Regions from separate parts of the Homo sapiens genome. Here region 1 is linked to region 2. Evidence: promoter capture Hi-C in 16 types of primary human blood cells and fetal thymus (Javierre and others, 2016). All regions are on one chromosome and are shown on one strand. Each heading gives the region's core, a stretch centred on a gene start or on the middle of the fragment in contact. The rest is flanking DNA. Distances are from core to core; before and after follow the strand shown.

Evidence for each region. Contacts are between HindIII fragments. The CHiCAGO score rates a contact against its expected background, and 5 or more counts as called.
Region 1: a contact is called between a fragment that was not itself captured here and the fragment with the promoter of TXNL4A in region 2, in 1 of 17 cell types (total CD4 T cells). The highest score is 6.2, in total CD4 T cells.

The regions. Positions count from the first base shown.
Region 1 is chr18:153,339-156,038 of GRCh38, forward strand. It overlaps LOC105371951 (a long non-coding RNA gene), which reads left to right. Exons shown (of 4, transcript XR_935081.2): 3 at 2,071-2,177. Among named protein-coding and RNA genes, the nearest start is that of USP14, 3.9 kb to the right of the region's middle. The HindIII fragment of the contact is 5,646 bases long and covers 1-2,700 here.
Region 2 is chr18:79,987,222-79,989,921 of GRCh38, forward strand. TXNL4A (thioredoxin like 4A) reads right to left here and starts at 1,342. Exons shown (of 3, transcript NM_006701.5): 1 at 1,019-1,342. The coding sequence starts at 1,171. RefSeq lists silencers at 1,155-1,394, 1,435-1,724. The HindIII fragment of the contact is 10,310 bases long and covers 1-2,700 here.

The sequences.
Region 1 (2,700 bases), core at 122-2,621, about 80 Mb before region 2:
TGTGTGTGTGTGTGCGTATGCATATGGTGTGTATATGTGTGTGTAGGATCCAAAATTATTATTATATTAATTTTTTTGAGACAGAGTCTTGCTGTGTTGCCCAGGCTGGAGTGCAATGGTGTGATCTCAGCTCACTGCATCCTCCGCCTCCCAGGTTCAAGTGATTCTCTTGCCTCAGCCTCCCGAGTAGCTGGGACTACAGGTGCCCGGCACGATGCCCAGCTATGTTTTGTATTTTTAGAGACGGAGTTTCACCACATTGGCCAAGCTGGTCTCGAACTCCTGACCTCAAGTAATTCGCCCGCCTCGGCCTCCCAAAGTGCCGGGATTACAGGCATGAGCCACCGTGCCCGGCAGGATTCCAAATTATTTAAGGCAGGGCTTATAGTTTATTATTTATTATTTATTTTTTAGACAGAGTCTTGCTCTGTCACCCAGGCTGGAGTGCAATGGCGCAATCTTGGCTCACTGCAACCTCTGCCTCCTGGGTTCAAGTGATTCTTCTGCCCCTGCCTCCCAAGTAGCTGGGATTAGAGGCGCATGCCACCACGCCCGGCTAATTTTTTATATTTTTAGTAGAGCTGGAATTTCACCATGTTGGCCAGGCTAGTCTCGGACTCCTGACCTCATGTGATCTGCCCCGCTTGGCCTCCCAAAGAGCTGGGATCACAGGCATGAACCACTACACCTGGTAGGGCTTATAATTTATAATTTAGTAGAGAGAGAAGAGAGAAACATAGGAATATTAAACTGTAGATGCTCTAAGAAGGTGTAGTGATATTTGTTGTTTTCTGTTTTATTATTTATTGTCTGTCCTTGGTAGACAGAAAAATACTTCTACAAATATGTCCATGTTTTAATCTCCTGAACCTATGATTATCTTGGTTGTCTTCCAAAAGGGACTGGCTGATGTGATTAAGGATCTTAAAATGAAAACAGTATCTGGAATTATCCAGTTGGGGCTAACGTAATCACAAGGGACCTTCTAAAAGGAAGGCAGAGGTCAGAGTCAGAGAAGGCGCTATGACGACTCAAGCAGGGGTTGGAGTGATGCTGTGGCTGGAATGGAGCCAGGAGCCAAGGAATGTGGACAGTATCTAGAATCTGGGAAGGGTAAGGAATAGATCCACCCTCAGAGGCCAGGTGCGGTGCCTCACTCCTGTAATCCCAGCACTTTGGGATGCCGAGGCGGGTGGATCGCCTGAGGTCAGGAGTTCGAGACCAGCCTGGCCAACATGGCAAAACCCTGTCTCTACTAAAAATACAAAAATTAGCTAGCGTGGTGGTGCGTGCCTGTAATCCCAGCTACTTGGGAGGCTGAGGCACAAGAATCGCTTGAACCCAGGAGGCGGAGGTTGCAGTGAGCTGAGATGGTGCCACTGCACTCCAGTCTAGGCAAAAAAGTGAGACTCTGTGTGAAAAAGAAAAGAAAAAAAGAATTCACCCTCAGAGCCTCTAGAAGGAATGCAGTCCTGCCAACACCTTAATGTTAAGACCAGTCTCAGACTTCTGACCACCAGAACTGTAAGATAATAATAAACTTACGTTGTTTTAAGCCACTAGGTTTGTGATAATTCATTACAGCACTCATAGGAAACTAAATCAGCCATAATAAAACATAATAGTATTTGACACAAAGGGGTGATTGTATAAGAAGGCTTTCAGTTTATGTGAAAAAGTTAGCATTAAATGGAGATTTTAAAGTTGGACAGGATTTCCCATGGCCAGATGAGGAAGGAGGGTACATTCTAAGCAATAAATTGTAGGTAATTCACCAAGTGAAAACATTTCTGATATTTGGCTATGTTTTATAGAACTTATTTATGTATAAACATGCAGGTTAAGATCTTACCAATTTATTCATTAAAGAAGTCACCCTTAAGAAGAAAATCCCATCCATTAAACACATGGAGGGCAGGGCTTAGCAATGTGTGTCATGGCGATGAGGTCGCTGTCATCTTTAACTCTGACGTTTAGGAAGGCCAGTTGTGCAAATTTCTTTTTATGCTTCCTTTCAGTTGCTAGCATGGTTCCACCTCCTCACTCTGCCCCCATTTGTCTTAAATTTAGGTCTGCGGATCTTCAGAGAGGCTGGAAGAAGCTAGTTGTACCAAAGGGACCAAAACTTGGTCTACAAGATTCCCTGGTCATCTACATGATGAATAAACTTCAAATAGGTAACTTTCACATCCAGTTCTCACAGCATCAAGTAATTCCTGAGTGCCTACGAGATAGCCACGATTCCTGTTTATAGTGTACTTGGGGGAATACAGACATTAAAAAAATAGAAGTGTGATGAGAGTTACTAAAGAAAAAGCTGGCCGGGCATGGTGGCTCACGCCTATAATCCCAGAAGTTTGGGAGGCCGTGGGCAGATAGCTTGAGGCCAGGAGTTTGAGACCAGCCTGGTCAACACAGCAGAAACCCCATCTCTACTGAAAACACAAAAATTAGTCAGGCGTGGTGGTACACACCTGTAATCCCTGCTCCTCAGGAGACTGAGGCATGACGATCACTTGAGCCTGGGAGGCGGAGGTTGCAGTGAGCCAAGATTGCATCACTACACTCCAGCATGGGCGACAGAGCAAGGCTCTCTCTCAAAAAGAAAAAGAAACAACAACAACAAAAAAGCGCAGGTTGCAATGTGAGTGTAGCAGACAGGATGATGATTTTTGCCTCTGAATCTCTCAATCTTTAGGC
Region 2 (2,700 bases), core at 92-2,591:
AAAATATAACAACAGTTCCTAACTTCATGCCTCTCCTACTAAATAAGAAATAGCAAAAATTAATAAATGGCAGGCCAGATAGTCTTTCCTTTCCTGAATATAAAATATGTCCTTACATCTGTTACTCTTTACTCAAAGGAGTTATTTTAACCCAGGCCTACTTTTTAGCATCTGTGAAAGAAAAGATAGCTTCAATGTTACTTTTACTCTTCATTAAAAGGAATAACCTCTCAAATTACTTATGGAAAATTAATATGGCAAATATTTTATTAACACCCTAGTATTTGTGCCCTTTGCCCTATTGCTACAGCTGCAAAACCTCAATAAAAGTCATCCTAAAATTGCTATGAGGAACCACAGAAAAAGAATGAAATCTGGTTATAAAATAGTGTCCTACAACTTTTATTGTCAGCAAGTAAATGCCAAGACCACTCAGTGTACTAATATTAGAAATTCAGAGAACTAATTCTAACAAAGCATATTTCTATTTTCTCCTGATGTTTACTGCACCTCAATCACTGTAAGCTGTAAACCACATGACTCACAAAAAGCGTGGTGGGATAAAAAAACACACCCACAGAAAAGCAGGATTTCTCATGCTATGAACATGAAAGTCCTGCTTTATGCATACAACGAATAACTCAGGTACCAAAAAAAGACGTCCTTTTAAATTAAGGATCCGCGCTCTCAATAAAACCTGCAAGTGCATTTTGTTCACTGAACTATAAGTTTGGGAAAAACGCCTTATCAACAGAAATAATTAATTCATTTGAGAGGAGGGGGATCATAAACCCTTTAAAATATGAAAAACTACAAGAGCTCCCCGCAGAAAAAGGCGTGAAACGCCGGCACAGTCCCCGAGAGCGCTCGACCGCAGCGAGGGGAGGAATCGCCTGAACGACGGAGCCGCGGCCCCTCCTCGGGGAACAGCTCGCGCCCCCAGGCGACGCCGGCAGGGCAGAGGCGCGGGGCAGATGCGGAAGCACAGCCCGCAGAGCGGGAGAGTCCGGCGCGCTACCTTCTCGGCGATGCTGTACAGGACCTCGTCCATCTTCATGCACGTAGGATCCCAGTCGTGGCCGAAGCGGATGACGACCACGCGGTCCTCCTCCGAGAGGATGGCCTGGTCCACCTGCCAGCCGTTGTGCAGGTGCGGGAGCATGTACGACATGGCGGCCCGCGCGCTCGCCGCCGCCCAAGGCGGGGCGCCAGGGAGGGCCCAGCGAGGTGGGCTCAGCCGGCCCCTCACTCCCCGGCCCCCGCCGCCCCCGGGCCCACGGACGAAATCCGGTCCCGCCCGCACACGCAAACTCCGCTGGGACTGCCACCCGGCAGAACGTCTGGGCGCGCACGCACCGACGCCGTGCGTGCTGACGGCATGCGCGCGCGCTAGCGCCGTGCGTGCTGACGGCATGTGCGTATAGGCGCCGCGCGAACGTGTAGTTGGCCGGGTGGAGCGGCGGCGACCTGGGCACCGTGGAGCGCCGTTGGTTCCGTCATAGCAGCTGTCGGAGTGGGGGTTCCTCCCCAGCGTCCAGGCGGCCTGGTGGTCCTGAGAAGCCCCGGGCTCGCCGTGCCCTGCCCCCACGCTCCCGCCCCGAGGCCGCCCGCCGCCGCCCGGGCTGTCCTCCAGCCACGGATGGGGACGTCCAGAAAGGCCCGGAATGCCCGGCACTGCGGCTCGTTTTCTTCCTTTCTGGTGCTTGTTTCTGTGTGTTACTAAGACAGTTCATGTGTGTCATTTGTGAAACTTGATCATAAAAATGTGTCGTTGTTGCCATACCCAACCACAGCAGAGTCGAGCAGCGGGGTAGGGAGGAAGCACTGGGCAGGCCGTCCTTGAGGAATGTCACCATCAGGCCGGCTGCTGAGCTGCCTGTTGTAACCTGAAACCAGGTTTTTTAATTTGTCTTTTTATAAAGAAAAAAAATTTTTTTTTGAGACGTGCAGTGACGTGATCTTGGCCCACTGCAGCCTCCGCCTCCCGGGGTCAAGCGCTTCTCCTGCCTCCGCCTCCCCATAAGCTGGGACTACAAGGCGCCAGCCCGGCTAGTGTTTTTTTGTACTTAGTAGAGACGGGGTTTAACCATGTTGGCCAGGCTGGTCTTGAACTCCTGACCTCAAGTGATCTGCCCGCCTCGGCCTCCCAAAGCGCTGAAATTACAGGAAGAAGCCACCGCGCCCGACCTAAAGCCAGTTTTATTCCATAGCTTCAGCATAACTTCCACCTCCAGGACTGATCTGGCCCCCTGGCTTCGCTCACCAGTCAGAGCTCCCCAAACCCTTACTAGTGCCAGTGAACTTTCTCAAAGAGAAATAAGTTAATATTTCTCTTTTTAAAATAAAACCTCTAACCTCTGTTCTTCTGAGAGAGCACTTTGGGTTCATGCTGGAGACTCCCTGGTTTGCAAACTGATATTGATAGTAAAACTCTTGTCTACTATCTAGCTATCCTGGTGGTCCTTTAGATGACAAATTTAAAACAAATCACGCCCGGGCGCGGTGGCTCACGCCTGTAATCCCAGCACTTTGGGAGGCCGAGGCCGGCGGATCGCCTATGGTCGGGAGTTCAAGACCAGTCTGGCCAACATGGTGAAACCCCGTCTCTACTAAAAATACAAAAAATTACCCGGGCATGGTGGCGCCCGCCTATAATCCCAGCTACTAGGGAGGCTGAGGCAGGAGAATCGCTTGAACCCA